6 separate regions of the Homo sapiens genome follow, and all the other regions are linked to region 1. The links are contacts of gene promoters, found by promoter capture Hi-C in human tissues and cell types (Jung and others, 2019). All regions are on one chromosome and are shown on one strand. Each heading gives the region's core, a stretch centred on a gene start or on the middle of the fragment in contact. The rest is flanking DNA. Distances are from core to core; before and after follow the strand shown. Region 1 holds the start of TSSK6 (testis specific serine kinase 6). Region 2 holds the start of SUGP2 (SURP and G-patch domain containing 2). Region 3 holds the start of ZNF253 (zinc finger protein 253). Region 4 holds the start of SLC25A42 (solute carrier family 25 member 42). Region 5 overlaps ZNF253 (zinc finger protein 253). Region 6 holds the start of TMEM161A (transmembrane protein 161A).

The links. Contacts are between HindIII fragments. The study calls those that stand out against the background at their distance.
Region 2: a contact is called between the fragment with the promoter of SUGP2 here and the fragment with the promoter of TSSK6 in region 1, in 3 of the 25 tissues and cell types used here (H1 embryonic stem cells, dorsolateral prefrontal cortex and spleen).
Region 3: a contact is called between the fragment with the promoter of ZNF253 here and the fragment with the promoter of TSSK6 in region 1, in 2 of the 25 tissues and cell types used here (heart right ventricle and spleen).
Region 4: the fragment with the promoter of SLC25A42 here is called in contact with the fragment with the promoter of TSSK6 in region 1 in 2 of the 25 tissues and cell types used here (dorsolateral prefrontal cortex and spleen).
Region 5: a fragment that was not itself captured here is called in contact with the fragment with the promoter of TSSK6 in region 1 in 1 of the 25 tissues and cell types used here (spleen).
Region 6: a contact is called between the fragment with the promoter of TMEM161A here and the fragment with the promoter of TSSK6 in region 1, in 3 of the 25 tissues and cell types used here (H1 embryonic stem cells, dorsolateral prefrontal cortex and spleen).

What each region holds. Positions count from the first base shown.
Region 1 is chr19:19,514,149-19,516,848 of GRCh38, forward strand. TSSK6 (testis specific serine kinase 6) reads right to left here and starts at 1,400. Exons shown (of 1, transcript NM_032037.4): 1 at 71-1,400. The coding sequence starts at 1,279. The coding sequence ends at 458. It overlaps NDUFA13 (NADH:ubiquinone oxidoreductase subunit A13), which reads left to right and starts at 2,077. Exons shown (of 5, transcript NM_015965.7): 1 at 2,077-2,184. The coding sequence starts at 2,091. RefSeq lists a silencer at 1,646-1,765 and an enhancer at 1,976-2,255. The HindIII fragment of the contact is 21,153 bases long and covers 1-2,700 here.
Region 2 is chr19:19,032,134-19,034,833 of GRCh38, forward strand. SUGP2 (SURP and G-patch domain containing 2) reads right to left here and starts at 1,384. Exons shown (of 11, transcript NM_001017392.5): 1 at 1,304-1,384. It overlaps ARMC6 (armadillo repeat containing 6), which reads left to right and starts at 1,470. Exons shown (of 9, transcript NM_001199196.2): 1 at 1,470-1,797; 2 at 1,998-2,105. The coding sequence starts at 2,077. RefSeq lists an enhancer at 116-617 and silencers at 544-623, 1,044-1,473. The HindIII fragment of the contact is 6,904 bases long and covers 1-2,700 here.
Region 3 is chr19:19,864,459-19,867,158 of GRCh38, forward strand. It overlaps ZNF253 (zinc finger protein 253), which reads left to right and starts at 1,424. Exons shown (of 4, transcript NM_021047.3): 1 at 1,424-1,541. The coding sequence starts at 1,539. LOC124904664 (a long non-coding RNA gene) reads right to left here. Exons shown (of 4, transcript XR_007067169.1): 1 at 1,978-2,700. RefSeq lists an enhancer at 1,455-1,884. The HindIII fragment of the contact is 7,733 bases long and covers 1-2,700 here.
Region 4 is chr19:19,062,659-19,065,358 of GRCh38, forward strand. It overlaps SLC25A42 (solute carrier family 25 member 42), which reads left to right and starts at 1,336. Exons shown (of 8, transcript NM_178526.5): 1 at 1,336-1,457. LOC124904655 (a long non-coding RNA gene) reads right to left here and starts at 867. Exons shown (of 3, transcript XR_007067160.1): 1 at 532-867. RefSeq lists silencers at 808-977, 1,238-1,507. The HindIII fragment of the contact is 11,421 bases long and covers 1-2,700 here.
Region 5 is chr19:19,888,741-19,891,440 of GRCh38, forward strand. The region is part of intron 3 of ZNF253 (zinc finger protein 253); the gene reads left to right. Among named protein-coding and RNA genes, the nearest start is that of ZNF93, 11 kb to the right of the region's middle. The HindIII fragment of the contact is 3,621 bases long and covers 1-2,700 here.
Region 6 is chr19:19,137,172-19,139,871 of GRCh38, forward strand. It overlaps TMEM161A (transmembrane protein 161A), which reads right to left and starts at 1,307. Exons shown (of 12, transcript NM_017814.3): 1 at 1,255-1,307. The coding sequence starts at 1,257. RefSeq lists enhancers at 689-1,550, 1,035-1,244, 1,525-1,714 and a silencer at 1,305-1,384. The HindIII fragment of the contact is 19,527 bases long and covers 1-2,700 here.

The DNA of each region.
Region 1 (2,700 bases), core at 150-2,649:
GCCTGCCTTCCCCGGATGGAGCGATCGCTTCTCCACTAGTCCGCAAATGGGGGCCACCGTTAGAGCCAGGTGCGAGGAACAGCGAGTTTATTGCAGGTTCCAACCGGGAACCTGGCACCCACGGCTGGTTGGGAAGGGACGCCCTCCGCGCAGAGGCTGAGAGTTCCGCGCAGGCGCAATGCTTCCGTCCCCTCTGGTCTCGCCCTCTCGGGGCCTGGTCGCAGGGAATCGCGGATGCGCATGCGCCTCCAGCTCCCGGGATCGCGGGGAACGTGGATTCCGAACAAGGGCAACTGCGGACTCCCCCGTGGGAAGAAAGGGAGGGAAGCGGAAGGGAAAAAGCGCATGTGCAGCAGCACGCGGCAGCTTCGCATATTCCCTCGAAGCGCGCCTCTTGCGCGTGCGCCGCCCTGGCCCAGTGCCCTTGGCTGCAGGAATGGCTGGAACCACCCGGCTTCTAGCCGGAGTCCCCGGCGCGCAGCCAGCAGTTGCGCGCTACCTGGCCCGCGGAGGGCCTGGCGGACGGGCTGAACTGCAGCAGCTCGGCGATCAGGGCCTTGCAGCGCTCGGACAGCTCGAGGCCTTCGGGATAGAGCACGCCGCGTTTCTGGCGCCGGGGCAGGCCGGCGATGTCCGAGTCGTCGAAGGGCATGCACCCGGTGACCATGACGTAGAGCACGACGCCCATGCTCCACACATCGTACTTCTTGGGGTCGTAGGGGATGCCCAGGAGCACCTCGGGTGACGCGTAGGCGGCTGAGCCGCAGTAGGTGGTGCTCAGGTCTGGGTAGCCATGGGCCTGGCGGCCGAAGCCGAAGTCGGTGAGCTTGACGCGGCGCTCGTCCGGGCTCAGCAGCACGTTTTCGCACTTGAGGTCGCGGTGCACCAGGTGATGATCGTGCAGGTAGCGCACGGCGCCGGCGATCTGCGCAAAGAGGTCGCGCGCCTGAACTCCGGGGATGCGCCCGTTGCGCTGCACGGCTTGCAGCAGGTCGGTGGCGGCCGCTTCCATCACGATGTACAGTTTCCCGTTGCACACCTCGATGAACTCGAAGACGTGCACGATGTGCGGGTGTCGCACGCCCCGCAGGATGGACAGCTCTCGCGGCAGGAACTTGTTGACGAAGTCCGGGGGCGCTCGCCGCCGGTCCACCACCTTGATGGCCACGGTACCCTTGTACTTCTTGGATGTGGCCACCTTCACCTTGGAGTAGCTGCCCTCTCCAATTGTGCGGCCCAGCTTATAACCGAGTTCGCTCAGAAGTTTGTCTCCCGACATGGTGGCGCCTAGGGCGCACGGGGGGCAGGAGGCGGCTGCTGTCGGGGGGCGGCCGGACTCCAATCTCGGGTCTAAGCCATGGCGCTTGGCACCTACACCCCCGCACCCCCATGTGCCCACTGCCAGACATTGGCCGCTGTTGTGCCTTTTATTGCCCCGTAACAATTTTTGCCTTGTGAAGTGACTGCGGGCGTCACTCCGCCTTAGGGTGGGGGTCCGGGACCCCGCCCCGGGGCCACCCTAGCCTCCCTGCTTTGTGACTCATAATCATCCTGAATGGTCAGTTTCCGATGAGAGGCCACTAGCAAGGGATACCCATCACCACCAGGGAGCAGAATCCGTTCCAGGGATTGGGGTGAGTCCGACTTCGAGCAGCAGCTGCCCCCCAACATCATGTACCCAGCCCGTGACTACGTGGAGCCCTGGGCTTCGCGTAGAGTCCCTAGACGGGGCGAAAACGGGAAAAGGGGCCTTAACTGGGGCACCTGGCTCCTTTGAGAGCTCGGAGTTTCTGACTGGCCTGCGCAACACCCCAGAGGCAAGGTGAACGCGAGGGCCTATAATGCAAGAACCAAGGCGAGTCACGCCCTGTCTGGGCAAAAGAGGAGTAAAGACCCCTCAGCTGCAGCCCGGCAGCGCATTCCTACCCAGGGTCCGCCGCCAGAGCTTTCCCGCGCGGTCGGATAGTTACACTACTGTCCGGGACTTCCTAGCCGTGCCGCGGACCATCTCAAGTGCTTCCGCCACACTCATCATGGCGGTGGCAGTAAGTCACTTCCGCCCGGGACCGGAAGTGTGGGATACTGCGAGTATGGCGGCGTCAAAGGTGAAGCAGGACATGCCTCCGCCGGGGGGCTATGGGCCCATCGACTACAAACGGAACTTGCCGCGTCGAGGACTGTCGGGTCAGTATCACTCTGCGCCGGGGTCTCAGAGTCTGGGCACTCGGGGCTCGGGGGCGGGGTTCCGGGGACACAGGCGGGCCTCAGTTTTCCCGGCGGTGTGACCGGAGGCGGAGCCCGGGGATCCATCATAGCTTCTGTAATAACGCTAAGTGCTGCAGTTTGTTGAGGTCTTTCCCAGCTCCTCTTCCTTCTCGTAACAGCCCAGGAAATCGGTCCCTCTAGTTATTTACGTTTTACAGTGGGTTAAACTGAGTCATAGCCTGTGCTCTGGCCCTCAGCCACCCTTGGATTTCTAAGATGGGGAAACTGAGGCCCAAAGAAGGCCGCGGCTCCCCAAGGCAAAGCTGAGGCCGCAACCCGGAACCTGGAGGGAATTTACAAGATGTTCTATGCAGTGGTTCCCTGCTGGCAGCCCCCGCCTGCATGGTGTCACAGGAATCCATATTCTTTAAATTTTCAATTTTTTTTTTTTGAGACGGAGTTTTGCTCTTGTTGCCCAGGCTGGAGTGCAATGGC
Region 2 (2,700 bases), core at 134-2,633, 480 kb before region 1:
GGTTAGGAAAGAAGAGATCAATCTTTTTTTTTTTTTTCTTCCTTTTTTTGAGACTCTCCCTGTTGCCCAGGCTGGAGTGCAGTGGCATGATCTCGGCTAACTGCAACCTCCGCCTCCTGGACTCAAGCAATTCTCCTGCCTCAGCCTCCTGAGTAGCTGGGATTACAGGAGTCCGCCACCGCATCCGACTAATTTTTATATTTTAGGTAGAGATGGAGTTTCACCATGTTGGCCAGGCTGGTCTTGAATTCCTGACCTCAAGTGATTCGCCCGCTTCGGCCTCCCAAAGTGCTGGGATTCCAGGCCGTGAGCCACTGCGCCTGGCCCAGGATCACTCTTTTCCCATTCACAGACTCAGCAGGGCACAGAGGCTCTGAGAACTTCCTTCCCTTCTAAAAGAAGCCTCTTGACAGTGAGTGGCGGGACCCCCAACCAATGACAATGAACTAGTGACAGTTCATTCTGCGCTGGGTCCTTGCGCGATCTCCCAACCACCCACTGAAGAGGCGGGTCCTGTTATGAATGACATTAGGGTGAGGAGGCAAAGGGAGACAGACTCAACGACCCATTCAAGACCAGACAGCCCAGATTTGAACCTGGCAAAAAGGGTATTCGTGCATCCAAAGCCCCGAAGAATGAGTAAAAAGATTAAGCAACATTTTGGGGTCCAGGGGCTGCATCCTTAACCATCAAGATATCCCGCTTCGCAAAACCTCCAACTTCAAGAGACAACCCGTAGGGTCCATTTCCCATCACGATCACCGCCTCCCCCACCCGCCTCCCCCAGTCCCATCCTTCAGCCCTTTTCCCGGGGCGCCCCCTTGTTCTCTGCTGGCAAAGGGCAGGGTTCCCGGGTCAGGTGACCCAGGTTCAAATCACACGATTCTAAGCTTTCTGTGCTTCCGTTTCCCCACCTATGGAATGGGCAGCCAGTAAAGGGGCTGGTGTGGGGGCTGAACCGGTTCTAAAGAGGGCAAGGGCCCGATGCAGCGCTGGGCGCCGTTATCTCCTCCCGAGCGGGGGCCGCTCCGAGTTCGGGAGGAATGAATGAACGACTGAACCAATGAGCCTTTGTGGACGCGGCCCGCCGTCTCCCGGCCTCTGCGGGCGAGGAAATGGGGGCGCCGGGCCCGGGAGGCCGCAGCCGGCCACCCAGGCCAACCCGGCGGGGACGCGGCCGCCGCCGCAGCCAGAGGGCCGAGCCTGCGACGCCATCACGGAGCCCGGGGCGGGCCCCCAAGGCCGAGCCCGAGCTTCCCACCCCGGGAGCCACCCACCGACGACGCCAGGGCCCGGGCCTCACCCCGAGACCACCGCGCGCGGAGCCACCCCCGCCGCCGCCTCAGGCTCCTCACCCGCCGCCGCCGCCGCGCGAGGCGGGGACATGCAAATGAACCAACGGTCTCCGCAGCGCCGCGCCGCGCAGGCGCAAGCCGCCGCCGAGTCCTGGTGCGCAGGCGCGGGCCGCCGCGGCCCGGCTCTCTTGCGCAAGCGCGCTGTCCGCTTCTTCTGGGCGGACGCTCTGGAGGCAAAACATTTCCCTGCTGGGGGCGGCGACCACCGTGAGCGTCCCGGAAGGGGCGGCAAAGACGCCTCCGTCGCGCACGAGGTGGCCTCGTTGGCTTTACCTTGGTTCGCGGTCGTCCTTGGTTATCGTGAGCGTCCGCGAGTCTCTGGGAGGCCAAGCCTAGGGGCGCCACAGCGCCTGCGCGCGTACGGCGGCCGGAAGGGGCTAGAGGCGGCTCCCTGGGTGACAACCGCGCGCCCCACCTTTCCCCACGTGGCCGCGAAGACCGGGTGAGACGCTGCGGCTGCCGAGGCCTGTCCCGCGCGGAGTGGGGAGTGGGGGTGCCGCAGGGTCGGGCTGGCGCGACCCTCGGGTACGTGGTTTGGGGGGAAAAAAAAAATGAAAGAATTTTACAGAAGCCGCCTGGGGACAAAATCCTCGGCTTCCCTGGCATTCGCTTTATTTTCATTCATTTTATTTATTCATTCAGCACCTGTGCACTGAGTGCCTGCTGCGTGTCGGGCCCCGTCCTAGGCAGTGGGGACAAGGAGGCTACAGGGTACAAATAAATGAGTGAACGATGTTGCTCTAGATACAGGTAATGGTGTGCAAATAATAACAGAGTGATGGGACGGGAAAGCAGGGCTGCTCTTTATCTAGAAGTGGTTTTGAAGGCTGTCTCTTGAGTGCTGGGAAGGATGAGAAAGGCGGGGAAGAGGAACTTGGAAGGCTTAGATAGAGAAGGTGCGGATAAGGAGGCTGGGTTTTGTTCTGAGAGGGTTGGGAAGCCACTACCGGGCTTTGAGCACGTGAGTGAGGTGGAGTCTAGGCTCTGGGAGTGGCAGGTGACGCCGCCCTTAGGGGAGGCTGGTGTTTGAACCAGAGTGGGTGTGGCTGGTAGAGGGACATGTGGATGGAGTCTTTTAGAGTCCCCAGCATGTCATGGCACACGTTTAATTTTCTTTTGAGACGGAGTCTTTCTCTGTCGCCCAGGCTAGAGTGTAGTGGCATGATCTTGACTCACTGCAACCTCCACCTCCCGGGTTCAAGGGCTTCCCCTGCCTCAGCCTCCCGAGTAGCTGGGACTACAGGTGCGCAACACCGCACCTGGCTAAATTTTGTATTTTTTTTTTTTTTGAAACGGAGTCAAAAGGAGTTCAAGCGATCTCCTGCCTCAGCCTCCTGAGTAGCTG
Region 3 (2,700 bases), core at 174-2,673, 350 kb after region 1:
CCCAAAGTGCTGGGATTACAGGCGTGAGCCAACGCACCTGTCCCTAAATGATTTCTTTCTATCTCCTATAACAGTTTGAAATTACTTAAAGGTTGTTTCAAACTGAAAAAATAAAAAGAATGTAGATATAAATAAAATATAGTTAAAAAATTACAGGAGATTACAAATTATATATGTAAATCTCGAGAGGTCAAAAATGACAAATTTTGTTTATTTACAAGGTTTTATTTATGTATTTATTCATTTTTGGAGACGCAGTCTCACTTTGTCACCCAGGCTTGAGTGCAGTGGTGCGATCTTGGCTCACCGCAACCTCTGCCTCCTGGGTTCAAGCCATTCTCCTGCCTCAGCCTCCTGAGTAGCTGGGACCACAGGTGCATGCCACCACGCCCGGGTAATTTTTTGTATTTTTAGTAGAGACAGAGTTTCACCGTGTTAGCCAGGATGGTCTCGATTTCCTGACCCAGTGATCTGCCCTCCTCAGCCTCCCAAAGTACTGGGATTACAGGCCTGAGCCACCGCACCTGGCTTTACAAGGTCTTATTAAAATTAGCTTTAGTATTGATAATACACTATTACCAAAGTAAAAGTTGACTTTCTCTTGAACAAACATTTCATGTATTATTAATATGACAGCAAAGTACTTCTGTTCACCTTTTGAATACATTCAAAAAGAGAGAGAATATGAGATAGAATTTTCCCATGCTCTGGGATGGGATGCTCAGCTCAGGGAGGAAGCCGTTTGAAAAGGCTCCAGCTAGGCTAGGCGCGGTGGCTCACGCTTGTAATCCCAGCACTTTGGGAGGCCGAGGCGGGCGGATCACCTGAGATCGGGAGCTCGAGACCAGCCTGACCAACACGGAGAAACCCTGTCTCTACTAAAAGTACAAAAAATTAGACGGGCGTGGTGAGGCATGCCTGTAATCCCAGCTACATGGGAGGCTGAGGTAGGAGAATCGCTTGAACCCGGGAGGTGCAGGTTGCGGTGAGCCAACATCGTGCCATTGCACTCTAGCCTGGGCAACAAGAGGGAAACTCCGTCTCGGTGGGGGGAAAAAAGAAAGAAAAGAAAGAAAGAAAGAAAGAAAGAAAAAGAAAGAAAGAAAGAAAGGAAAGAAAGAAAGAAAGAAAGAAAGAAAGAAAGAAAGAAAGAAAGAAAGAAAGAAAGAAAGAAAGAAAGAAAGAAAGAAAGAAAGAAAGAAAGAAAGAAAGAAAGAAAGAAAAGGCTGCAGCCTAGGCTGTCACTCTTTCTTCACTCAGCCCAGTATCTGATCACATCTGTCACTCAGCGGCTGGGGAGGCGGGGCCTTAGGCATTATCCAATGAGGGACGCTGGGCCGGAAACCGTCCAATCAGGCACGCAGCTGGAGCGAACCACATGGTTTCTGGGGGCCTTTGTTTCTCGCTGCAGCGGGAGCTCCAGGTTTATCCTCAGTGTTCTGTGTCCTGTGCTTATAGAGGCCCGTCCTCTGTGGCCGTGTGACCTGCAAGTATTGGGAGAGCCACAGCTAAACCCCGGGACCCCTGGAAGCCTAGAAATGGTGAGTGCCGGGTCCAACGTCCCGAGAGAGGGGAGAGGCTGTTTGGAACGGTGGGAAGTGGCTCTGGCGGGACTCTGCTTCCTCACAGTCAGCTCCACAATCTGCCGCCGGAGTTCTCCCTGCCCAGCTCGGCCTCAGTCCCCTTCAGCCATAAGATGGCGGCTGCGGTGACATCCGGGGCCCGGCACAGTGATTGTGCCCTGGCCTGGAGCCCTCTTTCAGCAGCTCTGCACCCGCAGCACCGCGTCTCTCCCAGATCATGCAAGGACCACGGGAGGGTCGTCAGGGGAGAATCCTGACTCGGTTCCCTGCGGGTTCATGAATGGGAAGAGCTTTGGTCCGTGAGGTTGTTAGAAACAAGCGCTTGGTGCCGCAAAACAACACAAAACAAAAAACTACCCAGCACTTAGAAAATTTCACAGGAAGGCATATTTACTTCTGAAGAAGAGTGCTGCTCGCGTCCGACCTGATCGCAAGAGCACACAGAAGAAAGGAAGGAAGGTTTTTTTTTTTTTTGAGGCGGAGTTTTGCTCTTGTGGCCCAGGCTAAAGTACAATGGCGCGATCTCGGCTCACTGCAACCTCCGTCTCCCGGGTTCAAGTGATTCTCCTGCCTCAGCCTCCCGAGTAGCTGGGGTTACAGGCATGCGTCACCACACCCGGCTGATTTTGTATTTTTAGTAGACATGCCGTTTCACCATGTTGGTCAGGCTGGTTTTGAACTCCCGAACTCAGTTGATCCGCCCGCCTCGGCCTCCCAGTTTGAAAGGGGTTTTTAACCCTAAACGCCGTTATTGCCTCTGTGTCCTTCCCCCATTGGCCGGGGTCTGACCTCACAATCTAGGCTGACCCGATTGGCTACTTTCCAAATAAGGAAGGGGTTCGGGTCGCAGATTGGAACAGGCGGTTTGGGTTGTTTACGGAGCGGGTGTCTAGGTACAAAGAGGTACAAAAAAGTTGGTCCTAAGAACAAGGAACAAGAAAGTTAGGCCCTTGAAGAGGAATCTATTATATCTGTCAGGGTTCACAGTTTCCCTTTTCTCCTATTAAAAATTTATGGGGCCGGGCGCGGTGGCTCACGCCTGTAATAACAACACTTCAGGAGGTCGAGGTGGATGGATCACTTGAGGTCAGGAGTTGAAGACCAGCCTGGCCAAAAT
Region 4 (2,700 bases), core at 86-2,585, 450 kb before region 1:
ATGGCAGGTGTCTCCCTAAACTGCCGGCATTTTTCTGCACTTCACAGAGGAGCTGAGGCTCACAGGCCGCACATGACCTGCTCAGGGTCAAATGCTTTCACCAGATAATTAAAATGAGAGCTGAGTTGTAAATTTTCCCAGGGAAGCAACCCCAGAGAGGAAAGATCAAGGCATAGGAATCATTTTCCCCCCTCTTTTCCAAATGAAACAGCTGAGGCTCACAAGGGCTTTTGCCCAAGGTTGTGTGGTGGGCCAGTGATTGGACAAGGATTCAAACCCAGGTCTCTGAGGCCCCCAGTGGCTCTTCTCTGACACACTCTTTCCAAAAAGCAGGCTGCTCTAGATTCATTCTCTGGTTTAGCAACCAGAGAATGCTGTGTAACCTTGGGCAAGGAGCTTGACCTCTCTGTGCTCTGGTTTCTGTAAAAGGAGCCAGTGGTCTCTCTGACCTCATGGGATTGTGGTTAAGATTCAGTTAATTCAAAAAAAGACTTGGCAGGGAGAAGGCCCAACAGGGATGTCACTGGATACCGTGGCGGGGAAAGCTGGGACGCAGAGAGGTCAGACACTCAGAAAACCACGCAGCGCGTTTCAGTAGGATTCCGCCCCTTATTTCCATGTCTTCACACCACCTCGAGATGGAGAGGGCAGTTCAGAGTGACCTCCAGCGAATCTGCCCTCTCCGTGTCGTCTGCAGGGGATTAGTGGGGAGTAAGGGGATAGAGAATTATCCAGGAGTCCTTCAGCCTTGATGGTCCAAGTTCACATCCGCTTCTGTGCTAGGTGGCCAGAGGGCGGGCTCTACACGAGAGCCTCAGGGGACCCTGCGCCAGGCGTCCGAGGCCACGTCGGGTTGCCGCGCTCCGGGTCGGACTGCACCTTGAACGCTCCAGCCCTCCCCTGGGGGCGTACCGCCCACGGCCGCTGCGACTGGCCGCGGGGCCTGCCAGTCTTCGGCTTTGCGGCCAATCCCGGTCTCCCCCCAAGCTACGCCCTCCGTTCCTCTCGCCTCTGCCCCACCGGTAGCGCCAGTTTCTTCGTAGCCCCGCCCCTGGCCCCCAGCGATTGGCCGACAGTTCTGCCTGTTTTCTGCCAAGATTCCAATCCTCGCCTGCCTCCAGGCCCTCGCCTCCCAGCGCCTAGCACCCTGAGGGACCACTCAGGCACCCCAGGCCTCTCCCAATAGCCCCACCTCTGCCAATCAGCGATTGGCTTTAGGGGCTGCCCATCTGCTTCATACTCGCCAATCACTGTCGCTTCCAGCGCTGACTGGCCAGGGAGCAGCCAATCGGGGCGTGGCGTGGACCCCTCCCGTGGCGCGCTCTGGGGGTGCGCGAGGCGGGGCCGTGGCGGCTGGAGGTAGCGGCGGCGGCGACGCGTCCGGGCCGGTGAGGGGGCGCGGGGGGCGCCGGGGGGGCCCAAGCGTCAGCGGCCCGCGCCTGTCGGGCTGAACTGAGGTGAGGCACGGGTCCTGTCATGGATCCCGGGGCGAGGGGCGGATGAGGCGGGGCATGACAGTAGCGTCGCGAGGGCAGGAAGAGGTTAAAGACCCCCCCCAACCCCACACTCCACGTCTACTGCCCCCTGGGGGCTACTGCATCCAGGTTTGAGCCCGTCACCCGCAGTCCACGCACGCCTGACACCACGTCCCTTTTCGTTGACATCCCCCATACACTTTAGACTGTCCTTGCTGACATCTCCCACACCCCTGGGGCCTTGTCCCCGGCGCCCCGCACAGCTGGGTCTGACATCCCCCTCACACACCTGACACCGCGCCCCCACTCACGAACACCCGCCCCCACTCACGAACACCCCCCACATCACCTGAGTCTGTCCTTGTCGATGACACCCCCACACCCACACCTGAGCCTGTGACTCCTAACTCATGGCCTCGCAACTCACACCTGGACCTAGTCCCGTCCCCCACTGCCTTTCCTCATATCCAGGTATCTGCTCGCTACTCTCGTGCCCACTCCCCCAGCAACCTGTGTCTCTCTTCTCAGGGACCTTCCCCCTGGCACCTGCCCTCTGCCCTGGCAGCCCCACACCTCTGTCTCCCCCTTTTCTCTCTCCCACCTTGGGCTTTCTTCCACGTGCACCTGTGTTCGCACACCCTCTGTAATAATCCCCCCGAATCCCCCAGGTCCTCCAATAGTCCCCCAAGCCTTGGTATCTCAGGATCGCTGCACCCTCCCCTCCCCAAACAAAAGCTTACCCCAGTGTTCATTTCTAACAGTGCTTGACAGTCTATAAAGTGATTTCCGGACCTTAGAATAATCCCATCTGTCAGACCAAACCGGAATCATCTCCATTTTACCAGCCACAGACCTAAACCACTTGAATGCTAGAGGCAGAGCCTATTCTACCCTGGGCATCGCTGACCCTCTGCTGTGGACCCACCGCGTTTGGGCCCATCTGTTATGTTTATCTCAGAGGGATTGGCAGGAGTCGTGACTTTGACTGGGTCCGGAAAGGCTTAGCTGGAAGGGACGGCCCCTCTGCCAAGCGTGTGTCTCGGAGTCCTGGGGCAGGCTGGCGGTGGAGACGCTGCCGGAGGAGGGGGGCTCATCATCTTGGGTGCCTCCTGCAGGATGCCGGAGAGGGGGTTGCCGGGGCCGGGGCTCCCAGCTCTTGCAGACCCGGGACCCCTCTCCGACACTCCCTGGGCCCTTGAAGCCGATAAAGAGTAAGGAAACACTC
Region 5 (2,700 bases), core at 27-2,526, 370 kb after region 1:
ATTATGATAATAAGTAAGGAATTCTATTTTTGTGTATGTGCATATCTTCTCCAGAAAGTTATGTATTTTCATATGATCATGTGTTGTTTTCTTGTATTATGTTATTTTCAGTGGAAGAAACTTCTTTCAGCATCTTTGATAGGTAGGGCATATGCAGTGCCAATATACTTTCTTAGGATTTGGTTATTTTGGAAGGACTCCTTTTTATATGATAGTACAATTTTGCCGATGGTATTATTTTCTGCAAAAATTTTTTTTGATAAATTCACTGGTTATCTTATAAGACTATGCTTATAAATGACACATCATTTTTATCTTGCAGCACCCAAAATTCTTTTCTTATCTGTGATTTTTGAAATTTTGCTTATAGGTGTGTTTGTGATAAATATCTTTTTGTGTATCCTAGTTTGTTCAGCTTCTTCATGTTTACATTATTTTTTCTTTTAAGAAATTTTTAAGTTATTTTTATATTTTTTATATCCATAATTTTTGTTTTTTTCTATTTTAATATTTTTTCTTGTTTATCCTCATTTTTCTGATCTTCAGTAGTCGTCTGTGTTCCTATTTCACTTACTGAATATCATTCAATTTCTTTTATGTAATTAATTAATTTATTTATTTTCTGAGACAGAGTCTCACTCTGTTGCCCAGGCTAGAGTGCAGTGGCATGATCTTGGCTCACTGTAACCTACCCCTCCCAGGTTCAAGTGAGTCTCCTGCCTCAGCCTCCCAGTAGCTGGGATTACAGGTGCATGCTGCCACATTTGGCTGATTTTTGTATTTTTAGTAGAGATAGGCTTTCACTCTGTTGGCCAGGCTGATCTTGAACTCCTGACCTCAAATGATCCACCCACCCCAGCCTCCCAAAGTGCTGGGATTACAGGCATGAGCCACTGTTCCTGTCCTACTTTATTTTTTTTTTGAGACAGGCTTGCTCTGTTGCCCAGCCTGGCCAGCAGTGGTACAGTCACTCACTGCAAGCTTCCCATCTTGGGTTCAAGCAGTTCTCGTGTGTCAGTCTCCTACGTGGCTGGGATTACAGGCACATGCCACCACGCCCAGCTAATTTTTGTATTTTTAGTAGTTACAGGGTTTCACCATGTTGGCCAGGCTGGTCTCAAACTCCTGACCTCATGTGATTTTCCTACCTTGGCTTCCCAATGTGTTAGAATTACAGGAATGAGCTTCCAAGCTTGGCCTGTTCAATTTATTCTGAATTTTAAAAATTACTTTATTCACTTTTTATGGCTGCTTTTGAAAATTTTATAATTTTTTTGATGGGCCATGCTGCCCAAATATTTTGTATACATTGTAATCTTTGAGTGAGATTCAGGCATTAACAAAAAGCTACCTGTGCCAATCTTTATAATATAGTTTTGTCCTTGTGTAGTCTGAAATCAATTGTTTTGGCTAGAGATTCTGGGAATTTCTCAAACATGTTTTTAGGATGTGTCTTGTCTAAAATTTTGTGTTTATTGTTTAGTTAAATCGGCTTATTCATATTTCTTCCTAATAATCAGTAATCACTTGCTACAGCCATTCCTGTTTGGATTACTGCAGTTTCTCTGCTTCTGTAACATTTACCTTTAGACTCAGCAGACTCAAACTGTCATTCTAACATATCACTGTTTCAGCATTTTATGTCATGGGAGACATTAGCCGGTGTCTAAAAAAGTTCATAGATGCCAGAAATAAAGATGTATGTGCCAATATTTTTCTTATTTTTAAAAAAGAAACCAGGAGTTGGCAATTTATATTTGTGTGTGTGTGTGTGTGTGTGTGTGTGTGTGTGTGTGTGTGTGACAGAGTCTCACTCTCTTACCTAGGCTGGAGTGCAGTGGCAAAAATCTTAGCTCACTACAATCTCCGTCTCCACAGTTGAAGCAATTCTCCTGCCTCAGCCTTCAGGTAGCTAGGATTACAGGTACCTGTTACCATGCCTGGCTAATTTTCTGTATTTTTAGTTGAGATGGGGTTTCACCATGTTGGTCAGGCTGGTCTCAGTCTCCTCACCTTAGGTGATCCACCTGCCTTGCCTTACCAAAGTGCTGGGGTTACAGGCATTAGCCATCATGCCTGGCCAACAATTTAATTTTTTTTTTTTTTTTTTTTTTTTTTTGAGATGGCGTCTCACTCTGTTGCCCAGGCTGGAGTGCAGTGGTGCAATCTTGGCTCACTGCAGTCTTTGCCTCCCTGGTTCAAGCAATTCTCTGCCGCAGCCCTCCGAGTAGCTGGGATTAAATGTGCCCGCCACCATGTCTGGCTAATTTTTTGTATTTTTAGTAGAGACAAGGTTTCACCATCTTGGCCAGGCTGGTCTTGAACTCCCGACCTCATGATCCACCCACCTCAGCCTCCCAAAGTGCTGTGATTACAGGCGTGAGCCACCATGCCCAACTGGCAATTTACTTTTAAAAGCACAATGTTATACTGGGCAGCAGGAAGAGCTGTGTTGGGTATAACTAACAGAGCTTTCTTTTTCTTCTATGTGGCTATTTGCATTCTGCTCACCTGGAGCCCTTCACACACTTAACTCATTTATAAATTTTTTACAATTTTATTTTTGTCACTATGTTTTTGTTACATTTATGTGTCCAGGAAGAAATCAGAACTGGTGGTATTTTGCTATGTCATCTTGCTTATGTAGTTTGTATAATTTTATAGGTTAGATTTGTAATGTATATTTATCTGAGTCTAGCA
Region 6 (2,700 bases), core at 57-2,556, 380 kb before region 1:
ACAGTCAGCCCCCAACTTGGTTCTGCACCCTGCAGGCATAGCTAGAGACCATCCCTCCACCTCCCCACAGCTCAGCTCTCTCCTCAGCCCTCCCTGCACCCAACCACTGGAGTCTCAGAGGTCTTCCTGGACCTTTGGGCTCTTCATCAATGACCCCACCACCCCCCAAAACCCCCCAAGGGAAAAGGTGGTGGAGGGGTGCATCTCTCCACCTAAGGCTCCCAGAGGTCTGTCCAGGGATGTTCTGATGGCCCTGCCCTCCACCCAGCCTCCTGTCTCAGGGTCAGGGCTCTGCAGACATCTGCAAGAATTTTCTGGAGTCTTCCATCAGCTCCTTCTTTTCCCTTCACTGGATTTACGATTCTCGAACTCAAGAACCCTGATAAAATCAATGCAGCCTCCCTCCTCATTCCCGGGAGCCTGTGCCTTCATCTCCTACGGCGTCCTGCACCTCCGCCTGGGACGACGCCCCACTTTCAATAATTCCGGCCATCAGTGCCCTTCCTTCAGGGCCATCTCCAGCGCCCCTCCTCGGGGATGGTCCCAGGCAGAGACCCTCCAGTTCCACGTCCCTCTCTCTGCCCAGGCCGGTCCCGTCAGGGTTGTGGGAGTCCCCCATCTCCCTGCACCAGCCTGACCCCCAGGGGCTGGGCTAAGTTTTAAGAACACACTCAATAGGTTGGACCCAGAGCCGCGTGAGACCTGAAGGTTCCAACTTTCCTGTCTCCCACTCTGAGAACCTTGCCCGCCCTGAGGCCAACCAGACCTCCTGAGTCCACCTCCCACGGCCTCCCCTGCCCGTTCCACACACCCCGATATAGCAGGGACCCCCGATGGATCCTGTCGGCGCGGCCCCCACGCTCCTGCAGGACCCCCGTCCCCAGAGTGGACCCCCAACAGGACCCCACACCGCCTTAACCAGGTTCCAAATGTGCTGGGGTCCCCAGTCCCCTCTGTGGGACCACGACCCCTCAAAAGGATCCCAGACCCCTAAAAGGTCTCGAGGGCAGAATCCCCAGAACGCTTAGGGGCTTCTAGTCCCCCTGGGTACAACTCCCGCCGACTCCCTCGGAGGTCCTGTAGCGAGAGCAGGGCTCCCAGAGAGGGACACACGGCCTTCAGCGTGCCCCCGAATCCCTCAGAGCCTCCAATCCCCAAGAAGAAACCCCAATCCATTCCCTCAGTGTCTCCCTGGACCCCTTCGGCTGGACCTCGGCCCTGCAGAACCCCCCACTTCGCGGGACGCTCGCTCACCATGACGCGTGCGAGAACGCGGTGCACTCACCCACCGGCCTAGGGCTCCGGGCACTCTGCGGAAACTCGACCAATTAGAGCCCGACTCTGGTCTGACGAGCATCCCGTCCGACCAATCAGTGTGTCTTGAGCCGGCAAATCACCAGGGACGAGGAGGCCGCTCGCGTTGCATGCCGGAAATTGTAGTTCAGATACGCTGGTTCGGATCGATCAAAGTGAAGATTGTGTCTGGGAGGCCTGCGTGGCCGACCTCTCTTAAGGCTTAGTTTTCTCTTTCCTACACTTATCTCAAAGGTTTGCAGCGAAAGCATTTATTCCCACCTAAGGGACATTTCTGAGAGTAGAATTCCCTCCCCCCATCAAGAACATTCAATGGCTCCCACTTAGTAGACGAAGTACTTAGTACTCCTAAGTACTAAGTAGGCTAAGTACTCAGACTGAATTCAGACCCTTCTGCCTGACTTAAATCTGCTGCTAGCACTATTGTGCACCCTATAGTACAACTTGCACCCACCATGCTGTCTCATACCTCCAGGCCTTTGTAAATATCCTACATCTTGCAATGCCTTCAAGAATGCCTCAATCTTAAAATAAAAACAAAACAAAAGCAAAAAAGAATGCCTCAATCTTTTTCACCTGGCAAGTGCCTTATTCATCTCTATCAGCTAGGACTCTGGCTGTGCTCCACAAAATATCAACTAACATGGGTTCAAGCAAAAAAGGAAAATTTTTGGCTCATGTGACAGAAAATACTAGCCATAGTGTCAGCTTCAGGCGTGGCTGGATCAAGGACCAAATGTCAGCTTCAGGGATCTGATGTTCTTTATTTCACCGCTAGGAGGAAAGGGCTTCTGGTGTTTGTGCCCCGGTTTTGCCATTTGTCTTTCTGTGGATGAGTGTGTCTGCCTGAGTGTAGACATATATTGGGTATGACTGAGTGTCTGAGCATCTTTATGGGGGTGGGTTCCTGTGTGTGGGGCCTGAGTAATTACCTTTTCGTTTTTACATTTTATTATGTATTTGTGTATTAATTTTTTTTTTTCTTGAGACGGAGTTTCGCTCTTGTTGCCCAGGCTGGAGTGAAATGGTGTGATCTTGGCTCACCGCAACTTCCGCCTCTTGGGTTCAAGTGAGTCTCCTGCCTCAGCCTCCCGAGTAGCTGGGATTACAGGCATGCACCACCACGACTGGCTAATTTTGCATTTTTAGTAGAGATGAGGTTTCTCCATGTTGATCAGGTTGGTCTTGAACTCCCGACTTGAGGTGATCCGCCCACGTCGGCCTCCCAGAGTGCTGAGATTACAGGCGTGAGCCACCGGGCCTGGTTTATATTTTATTTTTTTAACTTTCGGCTGGCAAGTGCTGAATCCTAAGCGCACTATCGCACGCCACCTCGTGGTGGAGGGCAAAAGCGCAGTCTCCCTGGGATGGAGAAGTCAAACCAGT